Regions from separate parts of the Homo sapiens genome. Here region 1 is linked to region 2. Evidence: promoter capture Hi-C in human tissues and cell types (Jung and others, 2019). All regions are on one chromosome and are shown on one strand. Each heading gives the region's core, a stretch centred on a gene start or on the middle of the fragment in contact. The rest is flanking DNA. Distances are from core to core; before and after follow the strand shown. Region 1 overlaps BTBD7 (BTB domain containing 7). Region 2 holds the start of COX8C (cytochrome c oxidase subunit 8C).

What was found. Contacts are between HindIII fragments. The study calls those that stand out against the background at their distance.
Region 1: a contact is called between a fragment that was not itself captured here and the fragment with the promoter of COX8C in region 2, in 2 of the 25 tissues and cell types used here (H1 embryonic stem cells and bladder).

Annotation. Positions count from the first base shown.
Region 1 is chr14:93,285,895-93,290,441 of GRCh38, reverse strand. All of the region lies in intron 3 of BTBD7 (BTB domain containing 7), which reads left to right. Among named protein-coding and RNA genes, the nearest start is that of BTBD7, 45 kb to the left of the region's middle. The HindIII fragment of the contact is 3,624 bases long and covers 998-4,547 here.
Region 2 is chr14:93,345,366-93,349,761 of GRCh38, reverse strand. COX8C (cytochrome c oxidase subunit 8C) reads right to left here and starts at 2,580. Exons shown (of 2, transcript NM_182971.3): 1 at 2,368-2,580; 2 at 1,406-1,734. The coding sequence starts at 2,493. The coding sequence ends at 1,642. It also overlaps a transcript of UNC79 not described here. The HindIII fragment of the contact is 7,905 bases long and covers 1-4,396 here.

The sequences.
Region 1 (4,547 bases), core at 1,560-4,059, 60 kb after region 2:
AGGAGATCGAGACCATCCTGGCTAACAGGGTGAAACCCCGTCTCTACTAAAAATACAATAAATTAGCTGGGCATGGTGGCAGGTGCCTGTAGTCCCAGCTGCTCAGGAGGCTGAGGCAGGAGAATGGCGTGAACCCAGGAGGCGAAGCTTGCAGTGAGCTGAGATCGCACCACTGCACTCCAACCTGGGCGACGGAGTGAGACTGCGTCTCAAAAAAAAAAAAAAATTAAAAGGCAGTATTGGCAGACAGCTAGAGTGGTTTGGCAAGTGGGTAAAAGGATTCTTGGTGCCAGGTGCGGTGGCTCAAACACCTTTAATCCCAGCACTTTGGGAGGCCAAGGCAGGCGGATCACCTGAAGTCAGGAGTTCGAGACCAGCCTGGCCAACATGGTGAAACCCCCGTCTCTAACTACAAAAATTAGTTGGGCGTGGTGGTGCATACCTGTAATCCCAGCTACTAGGGAGGCTGAGGCACAATAATTGCTTAAACCTAGGAGGCAGAGGTTGCAGTAAGTCGAGATCACAGCACTGCACTCCAAGCCTGGGCAACTGAGTGAGACTCTGTCTCCAAAAAAAAAAAAAAAAAAAAAGCCCAGAGAGTTGAGATTCTTGGCCTACACAGAGAATGTGTTTTATATCAGTAGGGAGGAGCAGGCAGTAGGCAATCACAAGTAGATAACGGCCTCAACTTACAGGCCTGGCATTTAGGACCAGATTTAACTTCACTTGATTTTCATTTAAACATAACAAAATGAATATGTTTAATTTTATTTCCTTCAAAGCCCTATTATCATAGTGAAGGAATAAAACAAATATAAGCTCTCAAGGACAAAGAGACAAAGATACCTAAGGAGAAAACAACAATGGGGAAGATGTTGAAATTTTTGGAAAATGGAAAGCAGATAGAGACTTGATTACTGGCTTAACAGAGGAGCAGCCTGTAATTAGATGCTGTAAAGGGGGCTACTGAGGAGAAGTGAGGCAGTTCACCTGTTAGAGCTCTGGCGTGGCTCAGGCCAGGTGGAACTAAGTACTCTGGAAAGAAGGGATATGCATAGCATAGAACTAAAAAGACAGAGTTGATTTTAAGTCTGAATACTGAGGGATCAGACCCTTTCCCCAACCCTGGAATTCATCTTTATGTATGGTATTAGAAAAGGATGTGGTTTTGTTCTTCTGCATATAGTGAGCCAAGTATTCCCTACTAATTCCCTATTCCTGATTTGTGCCACTCTTAAAGCTGCTATGTATGCATGGATTGTATTCATGCATCAGTACTCAGTCTCCATTTTGTCCCAGTGGTCCATTTGTCTGTTCTTGCATTACTATCACTTGCAACAAGGTGACATGCCCTTGTCCCCGCCCCCTCAATTCGCCTCTCTGCTACTGCCCCCACAACAAAACACAGGAGACCTGAGATTTTCTAAAATTTTCTGAATTTTCTAAAGAAATTAGAGAGATTCCAAATCTGGAAATAGCAACAGAGGAGGGTAGGGATGTGGCACAGGGTTGAAATCTATAATTATGTGAAACCCTATGGTGAAATCACCTACTTCCTTAACCCCTGCTGTAATACCAGCCAGGCAAATACAAGAAGAAACTGGAGTCCTGGAAATGGTGAACAGCTCAAAAGTATATACACTTACAGATACTGATGTTTTGGGTTTCCACAGTGAAATTACACTCAGGGGTTATAAAATGAAAAAGCCAGCTTGCCTTCCATTTGTTTTACAGAGGAGACTACAGTCATCAGGCCTGCCTGTGCAGCAGAGCTTTCAAACAGCTGCTTACTGCCTCAATCTTAAATATGAAAACCCATCCAAGGATAACTGGACATTTGAGGAAAGCTTCCAAATTGAGACAGAGATCAGAGCAAAAAGAACAAAGTCCTGGAGGAAGCAGACAATGAAGGGAGCAGAAGAAAACTTCAGTAGAATCAAAATATCCTTATATAAAAGAACTTTTTATGGAATCAGTGAGACATAAGCAGGATGCTATTAAAGTAAAAACAGGAGCTTTTAGAAATAAGATAGCAGAAATGAAAGATATAATGGAAGCATTGAAAGGTACAGTTGAGGAAATCTAGAAAGTAAATAATATAATAAAGAGATGAGTGGAGACAAATAAAACTAGAGTATTCATCCAGGGTCTAACATCTAACAAATAGTGGCTTTAGAAATATATACCAGAGAAAAGTGAAGAGAAGACAGTATCTAAGGAGTAATATAAGAAATATTTCCAAAACTAAAGGAATTTCTATATAAAAAGTTTCTTTTTCAGAACACTGGGGAAAAAGAGACAATTTTAAAATGTTGCAGGGAGGAGAAAAATTAGGTTCCATGCAAAGAAATAGGAATCAGATGGTATTGAGATTTTCAGTAGCAACAACTGAATACCACAATACAGTGAAGTAGTGTCTTCCAAAAGCTGATGGAAAATTATTTTAAACACAAAATCCTATATTTAGCCAAACAGTCAATCAAGTGTAAGGCTAAATAAAGGCATTTTTCAGTCATACCTCGAAAAACTGCCTGTGTAGGGATATTTCCCCTGCTTCCCCACTCAGGCAGCTGCTGGGAATGTATTCCACCAAATGACGAAGCAAACCAAGAACAAAGAAGTGAAGGATCTAGAAAATGGGCTCCAACACGGGAAGGAAGCAAAGGGAGATCCCACGCATCAGCCACACAGTAGGTCTTGTGGGCATTCAGTCTAGCCCAGACCGGGAGGGTGAAAGTCTCCAAGGAAAGAGGTGTCTCGGAAGAAATCAATTACTTTCAATGTTTGAACATTAAATAGCAAATGACAAAGCAATTTTATGGCTCTTGTGGTGCATTTATGAAGAATTAGCAATAAGTTCTTAGAAAATGAAGCAAATGGAAAAAGAAGAAATGAATATTTCCAAGATAAATTTAACAGTACATATGAAAGAATAAATAATTTTAGTACACAGCATGGCTCAGCAGTAAGCACTATTTAATTATAAACACTAAATATTGATTTAATAAAAATAGTAATATAGAGAGGTAAATACTAGAAGAAAGAGCTAAAGAATTGAGAGTAGTTACCTCTGGGGAGCAGAACTGAAAGTGGAAGGGATGTAGGACGGGGTGGGGGGGCGGGGGGGTTTAGGGTTAGCATTGTGTTACTACCAGACTTTTTAAATGATGAGCATATACTACTTTGATTACAAGGTTAACTTTTTTTTTTTTTGAGACAGAGTCTCGCTCTGTCGCCCAGGCTAGAGTGCAATGGCCCAATCTTGGCTCATTGCAACCTCTGCCTCCCAGGTTCAAGCGATTCTCCTGCCTCAGCCTCACAAGTAGCTGGGATTACAGGTGCCTGCCACCATGCCCGGCTAATTTTTTGTGTTTTTAGTAGAGACGGGGATCTGCTCTGTTGGCCAGGCTGGTCTCAAACTCCTGACCTCAGGTGATCCACCCGCCTCAGTGCTGGTATTACAGGCATGAGCCACCATGCCTGGCCCAGAATTAACTTTTTAAATGTAAAGATATGACATCAGTGCCCATAAGAACCAGAGAGACCAAGAGAAGGCCACAATCCTAAAGAACTGGAGACTTTATCATATCTTTGAAGTCTGTTAACTAATGAGCTCATGCTTATAATTTGAATGTACAGAGGGCTGTTACTTATCTCCATTGGTCATCCTGTCAGCCGATGAATGTGGTGAGGCTCAGAGATTATTAACTAGCCTTTTCCCAGGTTTGGAAGTCACGAAGCTGTAACTCATACCAGCTCTTCTGACTCTAGGCTCAGGAATTTGGGCATGGTAGGAGAAGGGAGAAATACTGGACCCAATTTCCAGGGATGAGGGTGGGAGGCTGTGGCCTACTCTTAGGAACAAAACAGAAAACTATAGTGATTGAAACATCAACTTGTAGGAGCCTCAGCTGTGAGCCCGATTTGTGGCTGAACAACAAATCATTACCCCCGACTTGGGTTGAGGGTAATGTGGGCTCAGCTAGGAGGTTTAAAGCTGTAGGGTCAGGGATCTGAGTAGCTCACTCAAACTTTGCTTCAGAGCACTTAGCCAGAGAACAGGGGCTTTGTACTGTTTCAGCCATTGTTTCCTGAATAGGTAGCATTCCTATGTTAGTCATTTGACTTTTCTGGCTGCCCAGCATTAGGACCTTCTTCCCAGCCTTACTGTGTATGTCTTCATAGGAGGCAGAGCCCACCTCCCAGTAGAAAAGCCTTAAAGGTCATATACTTTCTTCTGCAGCCTTCTCTAGTCAGGGTTAGTGGTACAGAAAAGCAGGGACTATAGAGAATTTTTTCTGGAAGCAGAGTGGGGCAGCAACATCTAGTGGAAAAGGAGAGAAGGCCATGGCAGTGGTGCCATTGATGACATTCACTATCCAGGGACAGAATGTAGGAGCTTTAGTGGCCAGGGTCCCAGGCAACTCAGGGTCTTCACTGGGCTTCCATGTTGTGGAGTCCCCATCCTGCAGCCTTCCTTAGTCCATGTTTACTGAGCTGGGTCTCCAGCTTTTCCCAGCAACACTGTAGATTAATAGTGTCCTTTG
Region 2 (4,396 bases), core at 1,331-3,830:
TATTGAACCTGAAATATTTAGCGAAGGTAGATATAAAATAATTGGTGTGAGAAAACACTTTAAACAGTCCACTTTCAAGGCATGATAAATCTAAGTACGTGCAGCCAGCCTGTGGATGTAACAAACCACACAGCTCACGCACCTAGAAGGTCAATAAGCAAACAGAATGTAGAGGAGAGATCAGCCCATAAAAGGGAAGAAAGTTTTGTTATTGGGAAATCAAAACTTAAGTGGGGAAGGGGACTGGGGTATAACCTTATAGGGGGATAATGAAACTTAGGCAACATCCAGGAAGATTGTAACCCCATAGTACTTGACTAGTGAGGAACTCGGGGAGGGACTTATTACATGCTAGGGGATAAATTACCTGCTGTAACTGCCCCAGGTGTGCCTGCCTACCAGACGGCCAGTCTTGCAAGTCTGCCATTAAAAGTCTCGCTTCTGCTGTTCTTCATGTCTCCAAGGGTTTGGCCAGGTGAATATGTGTTTCTCACAATTGGTATATCTGCTGTTAATCACTTATTGTGTCCGGAATTGGTGGGTTCTTGGTCCCGCTGACTTCAAGAATGAAGCTGCAGACCTTCACGGTGAGTGTTACAGTTGTTAAAGATGGTGTGTGTCCGGAGTTTGTTCCTTCAGATGTTCAAATGTGTCCGGAGTTTCTTCCTTCTGGTGGGTTCGTGGTGTCGCTGGCTTCAGGAGTGAAGCTGCAGACCTTGCCATGAGTGTTACAGCTCTTAAAGGCGGCACGGACCCAAATAGTGAGCAGCAGCAAGATTTATTGCGAAGAGCGAAAGAACAAAGCTTCCACAGTGCGGAAGGGGACCCCAGCGGGTTGCCCAACTTCTATTTATTGACTATTGTTTCAGGTACTATGTTGAGAGGTACTTTATCTTTCTTTGTTCAATGTTTTATTTCCACAACATCACTTCAAGACAGCAATTTTAAGTCCCCATTACAGAGATAAGGAAACCAAGACTCAGAGTTGAACTATGTTGCCCATGATAACAGCATCATCAACAGCTAAGACAGTTCAAAGATGTGTATGATTCTTCAAACCTCACAGAAGACTAAGAGAAGATAATAAAATCATTAAAATAGGAGATGTACTCATTCTTCACATTCTGACGTGTAGTCATTTAAAGAGGCAAAGAAATGGTTGTACTTCTCACAGCAAATTGTGAAGTGTGGCATGGCAGTACTAATAGAACATAAAAACCATTTAGCTAAACTTATATTACCTCACAGCTACACATCTAATCTTTTAAGGGTGATGTCACTAGATACATTCACTCCCATATAGTAACAATGTCACTCCCTGAGTCACTAAGTCAGACCTTTCACAGCAGTTCTCGGTAAATTTTCATCAGCTTTCACGATGTTTAGAAAATAATCTGCACACATATTACCAAGCACGAATAAGTGTTTCCGTTTTATTTAACACTTAAGCAGAACATTTTTGACTATACATCTATATAATGCACAGTACTAAAAAAGTGCAAAATATTCATCATAAACATGAGGAAAGTGAATACCACAATGGTTGCATCAACTCAACTAGGCAATTTTGCTCGTTAACAAAAACACAGCTTTTTCTGAAAGTTTTTTGGACGTTAACAGCTGTTCAACATCATCTTCCATCTAATTCCTTCTGAACTGCTTCAGGTTGCCTAGCACATATGCAGCTGGTGTTAAGAAGGTCGTAAAAAACACCACAAGTCCAACAGCCATTTCCTGGAAGAGAAGATGACACGCGCTGCTGAGTATGGCTTCCTAGGCCAGTGACTTGCTGCCTAACAAAAAGTGCTTAAAAAAAACATTTTGAGCACCTAGACCGTTGTCCTAGAAACAGGCGCCTAGTGAAATCTAAAATGCTGAAAATCGATTCATGGATCACCTGATTTTTTTTTTTAATTCATTTTTCATCTAAGGGGTCTCCGGTTCCAACCTTCGCACTCTGGAACTTCGATGTGGCCCAGGATTTCCACCATTTTATCGAAAACGCTAGATCTTCGCAGTGCCGAGGACGTCCGAGGATGGTAAATCATTCCTCCGCGAAACCACAGCCCCGCCCCCGAGCCAGGTGCCGGTAAAGGGTAACAACGAAGGAGGCCCAATCCCCGCGCGTTCCTCAGGGTCCCGGGCTTTCCGCCCCTGTGCCCGACGACGGCATCCTCACCGCGACCCTCTCCCAGGAACCTCCCCCAAAGGCGACCAAGCCACAGGAACCTCCCCCAACGGCGACCAAGCCACAAGAGCCTCCCACGCGAGGCCTGCACGCCGTGTCCTCCCTTCTCCCCACCCGTCGGGGCGCCCCGCCAGGGCCACGCGCTTCCCGCCCACCATGATGGCTGGGCCTCAACTCACCGCGGCAGACAGGGGCCGCTGGCGCGGGGGCCCCGAGTGGGCGAAGCGGGGAGCGGGCTGCAGGCCGAGCAGGGCCAAGCGGCGGTAGTGGCGGCGGGCAGGACAGCGCCCACGCAGGAGAGGCATATCGCGTCAGGTGAGACAAAGCCAGGCGTGGACAGCACAGGTGAGGTGAGGCCAAGTAACGCAAGCTCCAGTGCTCGTGAGGCAGCTGGTTTGCGCAGGCGCCCCAGCCACGAGGGGGCGCTCTGCCCTCGCCCCCTACCCCACCCCTTCTGCCCAGCACCTCCTGCTCTGCCCCGCCTCTTCCGCTCACCACTCCTTTCTCTGTACTGCCCTTTCCACTCAGCAGTCCGTGCTTTGCCCCACCCCCTCTGCTTAGCACCACTTGCTCTGCACCACCCCTTCCACCCAGCACACCCCTGCTCTGCTCCACTCTCTTCAGTTCAGTACCCCCTGCTCTGCCCCGCCTTTTCCACTCAGGGCTCCCTGCAACCTCCCAGCCCTCATTCACCTCACTTTCCACCCACGTGTCCTATCCTCTCCTAAACTCTCCTGCCACCCTCCCCTGAGCCCCAACCCCACCTCACACTAAGTATCTCTTTTCTGCAGGGTAAGGTGAGGGACTTGGCACCCCTACTCCTTTCCTTTGTCTTCCTCTCTACCTATACTTTATATACCTCTTAACATGCCCTGGCATTGGCAGAGTTTATAGCACACTGTTTCTAATGCAAATTAAATCTTCCATAAAATGTCTATAGGTTAATTCTTAACACTGAAAACCAAGAACAAGTTTCTATAGTCGGCTGATGATATAAAAAATATTCATGGCAGGGTCAAATAGAGTGTTTGGACCCAGTAGAAACAGTGATGTAATTATCTGTCACTACGGCTAATTTTCTTATTTTTTTGTAGAGACAGGTCTCACTGTGTCACCCAGGCTGATCTCAAACTCCTGGGCTCAAGCCATCCTCTTGTCTCAGCCTCCCAAAGTACTGGGATTACAGGCATGAGGCACTGTGCCCAGACCCTCTTGAGGGAAAAGTAAATATACTGTGATTTTTAAATTTAGTACTGTAATAAAACTTTATCCACTACAATGATCCTGTGTCTTCACATTATTTCTTTTGGGGGCCTATTGCACGAGTAACACTCTAGGGTTTCTCTGGATTCCTCTGTTCCTGCAGCCTGGTATCTTCCTCTTTCTTAGATTTCTTTTCGTTTTGCTGTAGTACATCCTTAAGCTGTTCTTTCAGGAAGGGTTTGTAGGTGATAAAGTTCCTCAGTCCTTGGAAATCAAAATATATATATATTGGTCTCCATTTAAATGCTAATTTGAATGGTTATAGAACTCTGGGCTCAAAATCATTGTCCTTCAGAGATTTTCAAAAGGCATTGTTCCTTTCTTTTCCAGCATCTAGTGAGCCGATAAATATAATGCCAATATAGTTGTCATTCCTTTGAGTACCCTCTTTTTTCCTTTTGGGAATCTTTTAGGCATTCCTTTTTGTCTTTGGAATTGTGACGTTCCTCCAGGATACTGTTAGATATGGGTATTTTTCCATTCATATGGATTAGCAGTGGGTAAGACCTTTCTATCTGAAGTCATGGTTCTTTAGCCATAGGAGCACTATTCCTATTTATTTGCTTCTCTGTTTTCTTTGTTCTCAACCTAAAATTCTTATTGACGGACACTGGCCCTTCTTAGCGGGTCACCTCTGTCTTTCAACCTTTTTCTCACTCATCAACGTTTTGTCCCTTGTTCTACATTTTGCAGGATTTCCTTGACTTTTTCTTCTAGCCCATGATTTTTTATTTTAGAATTATAGTTTTAAAACATACTATTTTTTGCTTTTACAGTCACCTGTTAGTATTTTATAGATATTATCACTTTAGATTTCTTTCAGAATATTAATCTGAACTTTTAAAAAGTTATCTCTATTCCATGAACTGTGTTTCTTTAGCGTACATTCTATTTATTTATTTTGAACTTGCCAGTTTTATTCAAGTATCTTATGATCCTTGGTTG